6 separate regions of the Homo sapiens genome follow, and all the other regions are linked to region 6. The links are contacts of gene promoters, found by promoter capture Hi-C in blood cells and fetal thymus (Javierre and others, 2016). All regions are on one chromosome and are shown on one strand. The core of a region is centred on a gene start or on the middle of the fragment in contact, and the rest is flanking DNA. Distances in the headings are between cores, read along the strand shown.

Region 1 (2,700 bases), core at 115-2,614, 460 kb after region 6:
AAAAATACAAAAATTAGTTGGGCATGGGGTATGTACCTGTGGTCCCAGCTACTCAGGAGGCTGAGGTGGGAGGATCACTTGAGCCCTTGAGCCTCAACTTGAGGAAGTTGAGGCTGCAGTGAGCCAAGATCGTGCCACTGCACTCCAGCCTGGGGCGACAGAGCAAGACTCTCTCCAAAAAAAAAAAAAAGTCTTAAAAATAGCTGTTTTTGTTTTCCATGTTTGTTTCATAAATTTTTTTTTTTTTTTTTTTTTTGAGATAGAGTCTCGCTCTATGGCCCAGGCTGGAGTGCAGTGGCTCAATCTTGGCTCACTGCAAACTCTACCTCCTGGGTCCAAGTGATTCTCCCGCCTCAGCCTTCCGAGTAGCAGGAATTACAAACGTGCGCCACCACACCTGGCTAATTTTTATATTTTTAATAGAGATGGGGTTTGACTATGTTGGCCAGGCTGGTCTTGAACTCCTGACTTAGTGATCCGCCTGCCTTGGCCTCCCAAAGTGCTGGGATTACAGGCGTGAGCCACTGCGTCCGGCCTAATTTTAAAAGTTTAAAATGGATAATTTTTATTGGCTGTGTGTTTCATGATTACCAGACTATGTTTCTCTCTCTTGTAGAGGTCCTTTGTTCTCCAATGTTGCTGTCAACATTCAGTCATTTCTCCTTATTTCACATGGCAGCAAATATGTATGTTTTGTGGAGCTTCTCTTCCAGCATAGTGAACATTCTGGGTCAAGAGCAGTTCATGGCAGTGTACCTATCTGCAGGTAATATGCTTTAATCTCGGGGCCTTTGAGAGTATAAGCACTCTAAGCTATCTGCAGAACGGACAAAGGGAATGATTACTGCCATATTCTACACGTAGTGAGTGCTCAGAACATATTTGTTTCTCACAGTGTATGTAGAGAAGGGAGCCACAGATTGGTGGAGATGTTGCCTTTTCTGTTCATTTTGCTGATTTCTTCTTACATATGAATTATGTGGGTATGTTTAATTTTAAGTTAGGATAAACAGGCGTTAAGTAAGGGTTAGTGTAGAATTTAAGCATGTCATTTTTGTAATCTCATCGGGCCTTGATTTCATTAGTTTAGGCCCTCCATTTTATAGATAGTGGTTCCCAGACTTCCCGGCTGCCTCAATCTCCTGGGTCTTTGTTAAATAACCTTAAGCAAGCTCATTTCCCCCAGTGTGTTCAGTTCACAGAAAGCTTTAAATCAGAGCTATACAATATGATTGTCAAGAGTGAGTTTGTTCTGTCTTCTTTGCAAGAATGTAGCAGGGAACCACTTCCTAGCCATGGTCTTGAAGATGGTATCGTTTCTTATTTCAGTTAGGAAATTCTCATGCATGAATCCAGGTCCCTAGATGCTGCTAACGTGACAGTTGGTCAAATTTTACTTACCTCTCTGTTTGTAAAATGTACTTACTTAATACAATATAAAAATTAATTTCTAAAATCTCTACATTTAGAAACAGTATATCTGGCAGTTGTGCTGTGATGTAGTGAAAAACACTAAGCTTGGCGATAGACCCAGGTTCAGATCCTATTTCTACTACCAGCTGAGTGATGTTGCAAAAATGACTAAACCTCATGATACTTACCTCCTCATGACAAGGGGTTAAAGAAAGGACTACATAAAAGCATCTACCACAAGCCCCAGAGTAGATGCTTAATTAGTGTTCATCGAATACTTATGTGTATCTAGTCCTTCAAAAAAAGAAGCTGAGCATTGTGTTTGGCTTGTAAGATAAGTGTATAGTTCTTTCCCAAGCACTAGTTATGTTGTAGTTACAGAGGGTCTGTTTCAGATACATTAATTCCTGCTCCATAGGAGGTTTTTAAAAATGAGCCACGTTGACTCAAATGGCACTGAAGCCAAAGAGACTTACGGGATCATCCAGTCTGTTGTCCCACCCCAGATATTCTGATTTCGTGTGTCTGGAGTACAGCCAGAGAATATACTCTTGGGAATGAGTCTTCATGTTATAGTTGAGGAAAATGGTAACTGAGAAGTGGAGTGAATGACCGTGTCGCTCAGCAGATCATGCAGCAGGTCAGACTTTTCATCCCCTGTAAAGTCGCTGAAATGATAGGCAGGAGAAGTATTCATGCCCGTACCCTCACAGTGATCCAGATTGAAACCCGACACTGTTTATCTGTGTAGAAATCAGAAATGAAAACCATTTTCATGGCTGGATGTGGTGCCGCACGCCTGTAATCCCAGCTACTCAGGAGGCTGGGGGACAAGAATAACTTGAACCCGGTAGGCACAGGTTGCAGTGAGCCAAAATTGTACCACTGCACTTCAGCAGCCGGGGCGAAAGAGTGAAACTCTGTCTCAAAAAAAAAAAAAAGAAAAGAAAAAAAAAAGTAAACCATTTTTATACCTCACTTAAATTATTGTAATGTGACTTGTTTTTCAGGTGTTATTTCCAATTTTGTCAGTTACGTGGGTAAAGTTGCCACAGGAAGATATGGACCATCACTTGGTGCAGTAAGTATTTCTATTGTAAATTTTTTTTAATTTAATTTTTAAATTTACTTTGAAATAAGTTTAGACTTAGAAGAATGTTGTAAAATTGATAAGAGGTTCTCATATACCCTTCACCCTACTGTTAACTAACATCGAAACCAAGAAATTAACATTGAAACAATACAGTTGACTAATTTAGAATTTATACATTTGTAAAGCTTTGTAAA
Region 2 (2,700 bases), core at 151-2,650, 400 kb after region 6:
TTCACCATGTTGCCCAGGTTGGTCTCGAGCATAGTTGAAGATGATAGCTCTCTGGTGATCCAGCTTGAGATAGCTTTCCGAGCAGATTTTTGACGTGAGCTGGACAATAACATGAGGACACCTGCTCTTTGCCCAGGCTTGCTGTGTGCTGAGGGCTTTGTGCCCACGGTGTCATTCGGTACAATGGTGCTCTGTATTGTTGACGGAGCCTTGCAGATCCTAGATGACAGATGTTGAATTACTTACCTATCTTACTGTGTAACAAATTACCCCAAAACTTAGTGGCTTAGAACAACAGCATTTATCATTTCACAGTTTCTGAGGGTTAGGAAAATGGGTGTGGCTCAGCTGGATGCCTCTGACTCAAGGTCTCTCATGAGGTTACCATCAAGTTGTTGTTGGGGCTACAGTGTCACCTGAAGACTCCCCTAGGGGAGGCTCCACTTCAAGCTCACTTACATGGAGGTCTTCAGGACCCGGTTGCTCATGAACTGTTGGCTGGAGACCTTCAGTTCCTTGACACATGGGCCTCTGCATAGGGTAGCTCAAAACATGGCAGCTGAACCCCATCAGAGAGAGCAAGCAAGAGGGCACCCAAAATAGAAGCAATGGTCTTTTTGTAACCTAATCTTAGATGTGATATCCCATTGCTTTTGCCATATTCTTTTTTTTTGAGACAGAATCTCGCTCTGTCACCCCAGGCTGGAGTGCAGTGGTGCAATCTCAGCTCAGTGCAGCCTCTGCCTCCTGGGCTCAAGCAATTCTCCTGCCTCAGCCTCCCGAGTAGCTGTGATTACAGGCATGTGCCACCATGCCTGGCTAATTTTTGTATATTTTAGTAGAGATGGAGTTTACCATGTTGGCCAGGCTGGTCTTGAACTCCTGACCTCGAGTGATTGGCCTGCCTCAGCCTACCAAGGTGCTGGGATTACGGGTGTGAGCCACCGCACCCGGCCGCTTTTGCCATATTCTATTTGTTGGGTTTGTTGTTGTTGTTGTTGTTGGTTTGAGACAGTGTCTCCCTCTGTTGCCTGGGTTGGAGTGAAGGGACACAATAATAGCTCACTGCAGCCTCAACCTCCCAGGCTTGGGTGATCCTCCCACCTCAGCTGCCTGAGTAGCTGGAACTACAGGCACCACATTGTGCCACCACAATGGGCTAATTTTTAAATTTTTGGTAGAGATGGGGTTTCACCATGTTGCCTAGGTTGGTCTCAAATTCCTGGGCTCAAGTGATCCTCCCACCTTGGCCTTCCAGAGTGCTGGGATTCCATGCATGAGCCACTGCGTCTGGCCCATTTTCTATTTGTTAGAAGTGAGTTACTAAATCCATCCTATCCTCAAGGGGAGGGGATTACACAAAGGTGTGTATCCTGGGAGTCAAGGCTAACTGGGGTAACTATCGGGGAATCTGTCCCGATAGTCACGTAGGTTCTTTTCTGTTTTTCCTAAGCGTCGGCCAGCTTGAGAAATAAAGGGACGAGTACAAAAGAGAGAAATTTTAAAGCTGGGCGTCTGGGGGAGACATCACGTGTCGGTGGGTTCCGTGATGCCCCACAAGCCGCAAAAACCAGCAAGTTTTTATTAGGGATTTTCAAAAGGGGAGGGAATGTGCAAATAGGTGTGGGTCACAGACATCAAGTACTTTACAAGGTAATGGAATATCACAAGGCAAGTGGAGGCAGGGCAAGATCACAGGACCACAGGACTGGGGCAAAATTAAAATTGCTAATGAAGTTTCGGGCACCATGGTCATTGATAACATCTTATCAGGAGACAGGGTTTTGAGAGCAACTGGTCTGACCAAAAATTTATTAGGCGGGAATTTCCTCTTCCTAATAAGCCTGGGAGTGCTATGGGAGACTGGGGTCTATTTCACCCCTATAGCCTCGACCATAAGAGACAGGCACACCTAGGGGGGCCGTTTATAGGCCTATACCCCCAGGCGCGTATTCTCTTTCCCAGGGATCTTCCTTGCTGAGAAAAAGAATTCAGTGATATTTCTCCCATTTGCTTTTGAAAGAAGAGAAATATGGCTCTGTTCCACCCGGCTCATCGGTGGTCAGAGTTTAAGGTTATCTCTCGTATTCCCTGAACAATTGCTGTTATCCTGTTCTTTTTTCAAGGTGCCCAGATTTCATATCATTTAAACAGACATGCTCTACAATTTGTGCAGTTAATGCAATTATCACAAGGTTCTGAGGCAACATACATCCTCCTCAGCTGACAGGATTAAGAGATTAAAGTAAAGACAGGCATAGGAAATCACAAGGGTATTGACTGGGGAAGTGATAAGTGTCCATGAAATCTTTACAATTTATGTTTAGAGATTGCAGTAAAGACAGGCATAAGAAATTATAAAAGTATTAATTTGGGGAACTAATAAATGTCCGTGAAATCTTCACAATCCAGGTTCTTCTGCCATGGCTTCAGCCAGTCCCTCCGTTCGGGGTCCCTGACTTCCCGCAACAGGTAACATACCAACATGTGTAGGTGGTGAGGTTGCCATTTTAATGAAAATGAAACAGAGCGACTCATCTTGGTGCCCTGGTGCAGGGTGATGCCTCTGTACATAGAGGTGGTGGCGGGAGCCCTGAGACTTTCCTCGGAAAGGAGCTTTGGCTCTGCCCCGAGTACTGCCCTGGAGTACAGTGGTGTGATCTCAGCTCACTGCAGCCTCCACCTCCGGGGCTCAAGCAA
Region 3 (2,700 bases), core at 102-2,601, 380 kb after region 6:
AGATTCTACCCTCAGAGGGCACTGGCACTTACTGAGCCGTGGATCCTCTGAATCACCCTGCATGACCCAGAGCTGTGTCCTGACGGCGTCTCCTTCTTTTGCAGGTGGTGGAGTTTGACACCCCATCGGTCCTTCTGTCCAACGACAGTTCCCGATTCTATGCCATGTTTGCTGCTGCAGAGAACAAGGTCGCTGTCAAGGGCTGACTCCTCCCTGTTGACGAAGTCTCTTTTCTTTAGAGCATTGCCATTCCCTGCCTGGGGCGGGCCCCTCATCGCGTCCTCCTACCGAAACCTTGCCTTTCTCGATTTTATCTTTCGCACAGCAGTTCCGGATTGGCTTGTGTGTTTCACTTTTAGGGAGAGTCATATTTTGATTATTGTATTTATTCCATATTCATGTAAACAAAATTTAGTTTTTGTTCTTAATTGCACTCTAAAAGGTTCAGGGAACCGTTATTATAATTGTATCAGAGGCCTATAATGAAGCTTTATACGTGTAGCTATATCTATATATAATTCTGTACATAGCCTATATTTACAGTGAAAATGTAAGCTGTTTATTTTATATTAAAATAAGCACTGTGCTAATAACAGTGCATATTCCTTTCTATCATTTTTGTACAGTTTGCTGTACTAGAGATCTGGTTTTGCTATTAGACTGTAGGAAGAGTAGCATTTCATTCTTCTCTAGCTGGTGGTTTCACGGTGCCAGGTTTTCTGGGTGTCCAAAGGAAGACGTGTGGCAATAGTGGGCCCTCCGACAGCCCCCTCTGCCGCCTCCCCACGGCCGCTCCAGGGGTGGCTGGAGACGGGTGGGCGGCTGGAGACCATGCAGAGCGCCGTGAGTTCTCAGGGCTCCTGCCTTCTGTCCTGGTGTCACTTACTGTTTCTGTCAGGAGAGCAGCGGGGCGAAGCCCAGGCCCCTTTTCACTCCCTCCATCAAGAATGGGGATCACAGAGACATTCCTCCGAGCCGGGGAGTTTCTTTCCTGCCTTCTTCTTTTTGCTGTTGTTTCTAAACAAGAATCAGTCTATCCACAGAGAGTCCCACTGCCTCAGGTTCCTATGGCTGGCCACTGCACAGAGCTCTCCAGCTCCAAGACCTGTTGGTTCCAAGCCCTGGAGCCAACTGCTGCTTTTTGAGGTGGCACTTTTTCATTTGCCTATTCCCACACCTCCACAGTTCAGTGGCAGGGCTCAGGATTTCGTGGGTCTGTTTTCCTTTCTCACCGCAGTCGTCGCACAGTCTCTCTCTCTCTCTCCCCTCAAAGTCTGCAACTTTAAGCAGCTCTTGCTAATCAGTGTCTCACACTGGCGTAGAAGTTTTTGTACTGTAAAGAGACCTACCTCAGGTTGCTGGTTGCTGTGTGGTTTGGTGTGTTCCCGCAAACCCCCTTTGTGCTGTGGGGCTGGTAGCTCAGGTGGGCGTGGTCACTGCTGTCATCAATTGAATGGTCAGCGTTGCATGTCGTGACCAACTAGACATTCTGTCGCCTTAGCATGTTTGCTGAACACCTTGTGGAAGCAAAAATCTGAAAATGTGAATAAAATTATTTTGGATTTTGTAAAACTCTTCGTGTATCAAACAATTCTCTGGGAAGGGAGTGAGATATCCCTGAATGGCTTTGGGACCTGCATATCCAGCAATGGAGTTGCATCTGGGAAGGACTGGTAGCAAAGCTGGTTGGTTGCAAGGGCCATGGGGCCCTGAACACCTGGAATCATCTCTGTGGGCCTTAGTCCCGCTGCCTGTGTTCCTGGACATGGTCCCCAAATAAAGCTCCTTGGCTGCCCATAAGAGGGTGGGGAGTGGAAAGGTGAGTGGTTGTGGTGAGGTGGGTGGTCGTGGTGAGATGTATTTAAAATGAATAGTTTATCGAGGATTCTTAGCAATTCAAACAATATAATTACCCTTTCAGCCAATTCATTCAGATTCACCCATTGAAAATTAGTAACCCCGTCTCTACTAAAAATACAAAAATTAGCCTGGTGTGGTGGCAGGCACCTGTAGTCCCAGCTACTCAGGAGGCTGAGGCAGGAGAATCACTTGAACTCGGAGGTGGAGGTTGCGGTGAGCTGAGATCGTGCCATTGCACACCAGCCTGGGCGACAGAGTGAGACTCCGTCTCAAAAAAAAAAAAAAAAAAAAAGCAAAGGGTACTCATTCTAAAGTTTCTGACTATATTGTGTTGAATGCAGCCAAGAAAGCTTTTAAACTGGTATTAGTTTGCTGGCCATCAGTAGAAATTATACTAATTTTTCTAAAGTACCTGTGCTGTCGTGAGAACCCAGGAGCTTGACTCTAAAGTTAAAACTTTAGTTCCTAGAGTGTCACATTTCAAGCGCTCAGTAGCTGTATGCGACCTGTACAACATAGTAATGTACAGTGCAGATATAGGACGTGTCGATCATTGCAGGAAGTTCTGTTGGGCAGCTCCAATCTAAACGGTAACCACTTTTACTGAGGCACTAGATTTATCTTCCAAGAAGGTAACAAGGTCAGCAGAACGAGACCCTTCAAACTGCTGGGATTACAGGCATGAGTCACTGTGCCCAGCCTAAATTGGATTTTTAAAAGCAATTTCCATTTTGCCATTTTGTGCTTTCCCAGCTCATAATTCTCTGTTGCCAAGTAGAGTAGGCTAACAGGTGTAAGAAACAAGCCCAGACTTTCAGCAGTTTACCACAGTAACCAAAC
Region 4 (2,700 bases), core at 48-2,547, 360 kb after region 6:
AAGTGCTGGGATTACAGGTGTGAGCCATCGCACCCGGCCCCTTTTTTCTCACTTTCGTTCCTGAATTGCATTCCAAAGACTGAACTTGTCTTCTTTTACTGTCCTTTTTATCCTTGTATAAGAGGTATCTTTGATTCAGTTTTCATTAGTTTTCTAGGCTCCATGCTTCTTTGGCATCAAAACTCTTCTAGCTTTTTTCCTTGCCATTAAAAAAAAAAAAACCTTTTGTCTTTTCTGGCCAATTGATTTTAAAGAACTTTCTAAGGAAGAAAAGGAAAAAGCCATTTCCTGCTTTCTGTTTGAGGGAATTACTTCACGTCAAAACAAGACATTGCTCCAGGTCTTTCATGCTGGAAGGGAATCTTTAGCCAAGCAGGGTGACTCTCCCCAAGCCTTTTTACTGTTCTCTCCCTTGAGCCCATCTGCTGCATTCGTCCCCAGGGGTACACTGCTCCCCTGAAAGCTGACTGATGTCCTTTGTTATGATTTCCCTTTAACACAGGTGAGATAGGCCAAAACAAGCACCACAACTTCATTAAACAGTAGTTAGTGACAGAAGAGAAACAAGAAAAAGAACATAGTGGCCAGGTGCAGTGGCTCACGCCTGTAATCCCAGCACTCTGGGAGGCCCAGGCTGGTGGATCACCTGACGTCAGGAGTTCAAGACCAGCCTGGCCAACATGGTGAAACCTCATCTCTACTAAAAATACAGAAAGTTAGCTGGGCGTGGTGGTGGATGCCTGTAATTCCAGCTACTCGGGAGGCTGAAGCAGGAGAATCTCTTGAACCCAGGAGGCGGAGGTTGCAGTGAGCTGAGATTGCGCTATTGCCCTCCAGCCTGAGCAACAAGAGCGAAACTCCATCTCAAATAATAATAATAATAATAATAATAACCTGATTTACACTCCGGTTCTAATAGGGCTTCTTCCAAGTTTCACGGGTAACTTGGAAACTCTCCTGTGGTCATGTCAGTCAAGGACACCATCTTGAGGACTTCACTGCCTTTCTTACCAGCACATTCCATCAGTGCAAAGGTAGTCAGATTCAGAGGACTCTAAAGTCTTCCAGTCCAGGTGGTCCAAACCTAGGCACCTTTTGTTAAACTGGAACAACTTGACCCATTGTTTCGGGCACCATTCCTTCCTTAGCTTAGATCTTAAAGCCCTGCCTCGGCCCAGAGGGAATGTCTCCTCCCCTCCTATCTGGGAAAGGGGCCAGTAACTGAGTCCCCCAACCCTGAACAGAGTCATTCATTTTTTTTTTTTTTTTTTTTTTTTTTCCTGAGACAGAGTCTCAGTCTGTTGCCCAGGCTAGAGTGCAGTGGTGCAATCTCGGCTCTGGAGTAGCTGGGATTACAGGCACATGCCACCATGCCCAGCTAATTTTTTTTTTTTTTTGTATTTTTTAGTAGAGACAGGGTTTTGCCATGTTTGCCAGGCTGGTCTCAAACTCCTGGCCTCAAGTAATCCACCCACCTTGGCCTCCCAAAGTGCTGGGATTACAGGTGTGAACCGCTGCGCCCACCGGCCTGGAGTCACTCATTTCTAGGAGGAGAACTATCCTGCTAGACGGACCAGGTTTCCTAACTCGTTTCTGGTAGAAGGATGTGAGGATTGTTGCATTAGGAAGATGGGTCCTAATACAGCTTTTTCCAAGTTTCCTGGGCGTTACTTCTTCCAAGTCTTATGGGTGTTTTTCAGGTTCCCATTAGGCTGTTAGACAGAGGTATGCCCAGGGGGTAGATCCCGACAGTGGGGTCGTGGCTGTAGACACTGGGGCAAGGCAGGCTGTTTGCGCCCTCCATGAGTGCTGAAGAGACAGCATCGTGGTGATCTCGATGAGGCCCTCACAAGAGGTCTTTCATGACATGGTGGCACGAGAAAGGTAGGAGGGTCAAGAACCAGGCGTACAGCCAAGGAAAAGTGATTCAACAGCTAAAACCCTGTAGTTCTAAATCTAAACCATGGAACCAAGTTGCAGAAAGGTAGACAGGACTATGGCAAACTTCTTTTCTTTTTGGCTCTGTAGAGAGAGCACCTTTTAAATGTTTATATCCTTTGACACAGTAATTTCAGTTCTAAGATTCTTTCCCAAGGAAATTGTCTGAGGTGGCAGTAAAGTTTCAGCACTAAGATAATAGGACATAACATTATTATAAGTTTTACATAAACTAAATGTTGACCCTTAGAGGGCTGGCTGAACAAGAATACATGCACATGATGGAATGCAACCACTAAAATTTTATCTTGAAAATTTTTTTAAAAGATGGTTGACTGAGTGTTATACAATGCTTTTGTTTTGTTTTGTTTGAAACAGAGTCTCGTTCTGTCGCCCAGGCTGGAGTGCAATGATACGATCTTGGCTCACTGCAACCTCCGCCTCCCAGGTTCAAGTGATTCTCCTGCCTTAGCTTCCCAAGTACCTGGGATTACAGGCACTCGCCATCTTGCCCAGCTAATTTTTGTATTTATAGTAGAGACAGGGTTTCACCATGTTGGCCAGGTTGGTCTCGAACTCCTGACCTCAGGTGATCTGCCCGCCTCAGCCTCCCAAAGTGCTGGGATTACAGGCATGAGCCACCGTGCCCGGCCAATGCAGTGTTAAGTGAAAAAAGCAATTACAATATTGCATTTCTGATATGATCTCAACTCTGAGGAAAGACCGAAAGGAAGTGTGCCTAAAATGATAGAAGTGAGATTA
Region 5 (2,700 bases), core at 96-2,595, 290 kb after region 6:
CGGCTACACGTCTTTAATTTCCGTTGGAGGCTAGTATGAAAGGTGTTTTCTCAGCTTGTCTCTGGGAGGCTGTGACCCTTCTTAGAGGGGGGAAACATTTTGGAGAAGTATGTATGTGTTTTTTGTTTTTAAGTGACCTGAGTTGATACAGCATATTGATTAGACTTAGCCAGGCAAGCAGTGGTTTAGAATAGAGTTTCAGGTAAAAACTAGGTAAGACTTAGTAATACAGGGTGGAGAATTTGTTTTTGTTATTGTTTTTTACTAACAGCTTTGTTGCCATAGGATTTATATGACATGAAATTCACTCTTTTAAAGTATAAATTCAGTGTGTTTTTTTTCAATGTATTCACTGCATTGTGCAACCATTACCACTATCTAGTTTTAGAACATTTTCAGTACCCAGGGAATTTGTGTTTGAAGTTAAGTTATAACATTGTTTTAACTGGATAACTTCATGGAGCTTTAAAATAACACCAGCTAACCCATTAGTTAATTATAAAAAGGCAGAGATGGAATATATCATTGGTAGAATAAGTGTTTGGTAAGTTTTTATTTAGTAAAATTTAGTAGAAGAAATGATGTCCACTTTAAAATTGTGGAGTTTTTAATACTTGGGACAAACTGAAATTGTTTCTAGAAAGTCTTTAAAAAAAAAACCAACCTTTCTATTGTATACACTGGATTTGAGCTTAGTTGAAGAGAATGGGTGTCTCTTTACTAGTGTGTTTACTGTTTCTAATTTTTTTTCCCTTAGAGTTGGGAGAAGGTAATTTTTCTTGATTCTCTTATACTGAATCTTTTTCTTTAAAAAAATGAAATCAAAATCTTTGAACTTTTTTTGAAAATTAATTTTTGTAGCTATAACAGTAGAAAGCTTTAGTACTTTTGCCTTTTTTTTTTTTTTCCTATTTTTAAGGCACTTGAGCTTATGGTTAAGTACTGTTTAGGAAATAATCTATTTCTTGATGAATTTTTAATTTCAGGAATTCTGATGTGAAACTAACAGTCTGTGAGCCCTGGAACCTCCACTCAGAGAAGATGAAGGATATCGACATAGGAAAAGAGTATATCATCCCCAGTCCTGGGTATAGAAGTGTGAGGGAGAGAACCAGCACTTCTGGGACGCACAGAGACCGTGAAGATTCCAAGTTCAGGAGAACTCGACCGGTCAGTTTCCTTTCCTAAGAGTCTCTTACCTGCTTGTTGTACTAAAACACATCTTTTTTCGTATAATGGGTAATTTAGAAACTTATTTTTTGGCCGGGCGCGGTGGCTCACGCCTATAAACCCAGCACTTTGGGAGGCTGAGGCGGGTGGATCATCTGAGGTCAGGAGTTCGAGACCAGCCTGACCAACATGGTGAAAACCTGTCTCTACTAAAAGTACAAAAATTAGCCAGGCGTGGTGGCGGGCGCCTATAATCCCAGATACTTGCGAGGCTGAGGCACGAGAATCGCTTGAACCCAAGAGGCGGAGGTTGCAGTGAGCTGGGATCATGCCACTGCACTCCAGCCTGGGCGATAGAGCGAGACTCAGTCTCAAAAAAAAATGTGTTTTTCTTTATTGGCTTTAGGTTACTGTTAAGAATTTATGGTTATTGATAAGTCTCTGGTCCATAGTAAGCACTCAATAAGTGGAAGAGAGGCTGGCTGTCACCCTCTCACCCGGTCTGTTCTGAGCATTCTCCTCTTTTTCACTTTTATTCTATGTTGGTGCCTTCTGAAAAGGCTATACTTAACAGAAGACAACTTATTGAGGGGGAGGGGGTCATGGGGTCAATGACAGGGAATATAAAGCCAATTAAGCTTCATTCATGTACCTAAACAAAATTGGTGTTTTCTTCTACTTTCTGTCATGTGTGTTTAAAATGTGAACCTGGCCAGGCACAGTGGCTCATGCTTGTAATCCCAGCACTTTGGGAGGTTGAGGTGGGTGGGTCACTTGAGGTCAGGAGTTTGAGACCAGCCTGGCCAACACGGTGAAACCCTGTCTCTGCTAAAAATACAAAAATTAGTGAGGTGTGGTGGTGGGCACCTGTACTCCCAGCTACTCAGGAGGGAGGCAGGAGAATTGCTTGAATCCAGGAGGCAGAGGTTGCAGTGAGCCAAGATCACGCCACTGCACTCCAGCCTGGGCAACAGAGTGAGACTCCGTCTCCAAAAAAATAAAAAATAAAATAAAATGTGAATCCTTTGGAGAGACTCAGATTTCAGAACAATTCTAGATAGTTGTGGGATTATCAGTATGTTTTTCAAGCGAATTCATAAGTTAAGCAGTCTTTAGATAATAATCTAATTTCCTCCAAGGGAAATAATGAAGATGCGTTTTTACCTCGAGAAAATATTCTTTTTCCTGAGGAAAAAAAGCATTATACCTTTTCTTACAAAAGTACCTAATAAGGCAGAATGGACTAGGTTTAGGAAGTTGAGGTTTTTGTTGGTGTATTTGTTATGTGAAAATTTGAGAAAGATAATGGACTTTGCAGCTGACACTGGCCTTTCCTTAGCCTGATACTACCTTTCCCTCTTTGGTTGTGTTAAAGCCATTGCTTTATTAATGAACATTTTCTTGCTAATGAGTCTTTTCTGTACCCTACTGTGTATTATAGAATGCTTTTCCATTCAGGTTTAACTTCAGAGAAACAGGCTTAATGTAATCAGTGTCAAATGCTTCTCGTGGTGCCAGTTTTATAACTTC
Region 6 (2,700 bases), core at 1-2,500:
AAGGAATTCCTAAACTAGGCCTCCACCAGGTTTGAAACAGTTTTACCTTATTCTCCCCAGGGGCCATGTTCTCATAGATTTCCTTCAGTTTGCCATAGTGTGGACGCAGAAATTTGAGAGGCTTGGGCACTGAAGTCATGGAAGTTGTAGAAGAACGAATCTGCCTTCGCAATTCCTCCAGCGCTGGTCGATACAGGGATGTATCCTTCTCCTGATCAAGAGACGACAGGGCTCAGACAAAAAGGAGTCACACCCCTTCAAGTCATAATACAGAGATATTTAACTTAACAACTCCTCCAAGGAAATGCTGTGTCTTATTCATTCATCTGTGATTCCTCAACTCCCTGCACCCTGCCTGGCACAAAAACAAATGACCCAAGTTAAGAGGTAAGAACTCTGCTTCTCCCACAAGAGAAAGCTGCAAAACTGTACAAATACCCTTTGTAACTCTCCTGCCTCCCAACATCATCATAACACTGACCCTAAAATACAGTCCACCGTACATAGCAGTTGCCTCAAAAAAGAATAAAACAAGTGGGAAAGATCCAAACATGCACCGAATCATGTTAACATCGTGACTCACCCCTAGTCGTTCCACGAGCATCTCCAGTTCATCTTGAAGCTGTTTATCCTCTTCAGACTGGAGGGTTGGGAGAAGCAGCTCATGAAGAGAAGGAATCCCAAAGACGTCCTCCTCCCACTTACCCGGGGCAGGTGAAGAATAAGCCTGCCTCCTTAGGAGGGGCCAGGTGGACAAGGAAACCGAGTGGGAATGGGAAGCCCTGGTGAGAAATCAGCCTGGGTTCTGAATCAGGCTCTACTTGAATGCCACTCTAGGAAACGGAGGTGACAATGACCTGCCCGAGTCCACTTCACGCGGCGGTGGTGAGGGTTGGTGGGGACGGCGGAGGTGACAGCGCGGAACGGAGAATGAGGAGCAGAGAGGCAAGGTGCCGGGAGTCCCGAGGGTCGCCCCAACCGCCCTCTCCCTGGCGCGGTGGGGTAGTTGGGTGTCGGGCCTGAGGCCTGCGGAGCCGCCGTGACTCAGCCCCGCAGCCTCCTTCGCCGACTCTCGGGGTCGCGCCTCACCAGCTCCTGTTCTTTGTCCTTGTCCCCGGCATCCCGCCGCTCCTTGCCGCTCGGCTTCTCGTCCGTGCCGCCGGGGGCCGCCGCTGGAGACTGCTGGGGCTGCACCGGCGCCTTGTCCCGGCCTCCCTCCTCCATCTCCGCCGCCACTGCCGGCCCGCTGCGCGCGCACCCGCTCGCACCGCCCTTTTTCCCAGACCAACTCGCGCGCGTCGGTCGCGGCGCCCCTCCTCCTCCAGAGCCCGCCTGCGACCGGAAACGCCGGGGCGAGCCGGGGCGCTCGGCGACCCACCCACCCCCTCGGCCTGAGAGCCCCGCCCTCGGACCCCGCCCTCGGAGGCAGGTGGAGACTACAATTCCCAGCCTCCCCCGCGCCATAGTCGCCCCTGGCCCCCGACCTCTTCGGAGTTTCCTGAAACCCGCGGGACTTGGCCGTGTGGGGTTTGGGTTCGCTCACTGCTGTAGATGGGCGGTCTGCGAGCGGAGTTACCGAGTTTTACTCCGCCACAGGTTTTTCTCATAACGGTGTAAATAGAACCCACAGTGACACTCCAGTTGACTGCGTGGCGCGACAGACAAACTAGATTTCTTGACGTCCAGGACGCTTGATTGCCGCCTGTATAAAGTCTGTGTAACTGTGTCTAGCCCCACACCACTGTGGAATATTAACCTCATTTGGTTTTGTTGTTGTTGTTGCTTTTGAGAAGGAGGCTCGCTCTCTCGCCCAGGCTGGAGTGCAGTGGCGCGATCTCGGCTCACTGCAAACTCCGCCTACCAGGTTCAAGTGATTCTCGTGCCTCAACCTCCCGAGTAGCTGGGATTACAGGCGCCCGCCACCACGCCCAGCTAATTTTTGTATTTTTTAGTAGAGACGGGGGTTTCACTATGTTGGCCAGGCTGGTCTCGAACTCCTGACCTCAAGTGATCTGCCCGCCTCAGCCTCCCAAAGAGCTGTAATTACAGGTGTGAACCACCGCGCCCGGCCTATTAACCTCATTTGATATTCCTCCCCAGTTGAAAGAGAGTACTCTGCTATTCCCGTGGCTACCATTTTAAATACTTTGGGGAGCCAGGTGGAGTTGACATCGATCAATAAAGCCCTGTGCTCCCCGCCAAGTTCTGGAGCTAAAAGCAGAACAAGACAAGGTCTTCGTCCTCTATCTTCTCGTCTTTCCCTGTGAAGCCTTAGAGGCGTGTGACTGACGCGCTTATGTCAGGACTGCTTTCGAGTGATTCCATGCACTTCTTACAATCTTTTGAGATTGGTAGGGTTAGGTCCATTTTACAGAGAAGATCATATCAAGTAGTAAAATGAGGATTTATTTTTTATTTTATTTATTTGTTTTGAGATAGTGTTTCTCTCCTGTTGCCCAGGCTGGAGTGCAATGGCGCAATCTCGGCTCACCACAACCTTCGCCTCCCGGGTGCAAGTGATTCTCCTGCCTCAGCCTCCCGAGTAGCTGGATAAAGAGGAGTTTTAGAAAAAAATCCCTCTACAGATGACTGAAGAAAGCATGAAAATGTATGGACACCGTGAAGCCAGAGATAGAATAGGCAGAACAGTTATGGACTGTTGAATTTTTGTGCCACCACGCCCGGCTAATTTTTGTATTT

Evidence for each region. Contacts are between HindIII fragments. The CHiCAGO score rates a contact against its expected background, and 5 or more counts as called.
Region 1: a fragment that was not itself captured here is called in contact with the fragment with the promoter of PSMD2 in region 6 in 3 of 17 cell types (M0 macrophages, M1 macrophages and erythroblasts); the score reaches 5.3 in M0 macrophages.
Region 2: a contact is called between a fragment that was not itself captured here and the fragment with the promoter of PSMD2 in region 6, in 16 of 17 cell types (M2 macrophages, M1 macrophages, M0 macrophages and 13 more). The highest score is 24.9, in M2 macrophages.
Region 3: a fragment that was not itself captured here is called in contact with the fragment with the promoter of PSMD2 in region 6 in 4 of 17 cell types (M1 macrophages, endothelial precursors, M0 macrophages and 1 more); the score reaches 10.4 in M1 macrophages.
Region 4: a contact is called between a fragment that was not itself captured here and the fragment with the promoter of PSMD2 in region 6, in 3 of 17 cell types (M0 macrophages, M2 macrophages and M1 macrophages). The highest score is 6.3, in M0 macrophages.
Region 5: a contact is called between a fragment that was not itself captured here and the fragment with the promoter of PSMD2 in region 6, in 6 of 17 cell types (endothelial precursors, M1 macrophages, M2 macrophages and 3 more). The highest score is 7.2, in endothelial precursors.

Annotation. Positions count from the first base shown.
Region 1 is chr3:183,840,364-183,843,063 of GRCh38, reverse strand. It overlaps PARL (presenilin associated rhomboid like), which reads left to right. Exons shown (of 10, transcript NM_018622.7): 6 at 617-766; 7 at 2,424-2,494. Among named protein-coding and RNA genes, the nearest start is that of MAP6D1, 16 kb to the right of the region's middle. The HindIII fragment of the contact is 311 bases long and covers 1,209-1,519 here.
Region 2 is chr3:183,899,187-183,901,886 of GRCh38, reverse strand. It overlaps the pseudogene CYP2AB1P. Among named protein-coding and RNA genes, the nearest start is that of MIR4448, 14 kb to the right of the region's middle. The HindIII fragment of the contact is 4,315 bases long and covers 1-2,700 here.
Region 3 is chr3:183,918,806-183,921,505 of GRCh38, reverse strand. ABCC5 (ATP binding cassette subfamily C member 5) reads left to right here. Exons shown (of 30, transcript NM_005688.4): 30 at 105-1,572. The coding sequence ends at 206. Among named protein-coding and RNA genes, the nearest start is that of MIR4448, 33 kb to the right of the region's middle. The HindIII fragment of the contact is 1,722 bases long and covers 491-2,212 here.
Region 4 is chr3:183,939,042-183,941,741 of GRCh38, reverse strand. The region is part of intron 25 of ABCC5 (ATP binding cassette subfamily C member 5); the gene reads left to right. Among named protein-coding and RNA genes, the nearest start is that of MIR4448, 54 kb to the right of the region's middle. The HindIII fragment of the contact is 7,094 bases long and covers 1-2,700 here.
Region 5 is chr3:184,012,734-184,015,433 of GRCh38, reverse strand. ABCC5 (ATP binding cassette subfamily C member 5) reads left to right here. Exons shown (of 30, transcript NM_005688.4): 2 at 987-1,170. The coding sequence starts at 1,042. Among named protein-coding and RNA genes, the nearest start is that of ABCC5, 3.8 kb to the left of the region's middle. The HindIII fragment of the contact is 931 bases long and covers 880-1,810 here.
Region 6 is chr3:184,297,791-184,300,490 of GRCh38, reverse strand. It overlaps PSMD2 (proteasome 26S subunit ubiquitin receptor, non-ATPase 2), which reads right to left and starts at 1,250. Exons shown (of 21, transcript NM_002808.5): 1 at 1,090-1,250; 2 at 584-640; 3 at 47-211. The coding sequence starts at 1,224. RefSeq lists a silencer at 1,243-1,582. The HindIII fragment of the contact is 6,965 bases long and covers 1-2,700 here.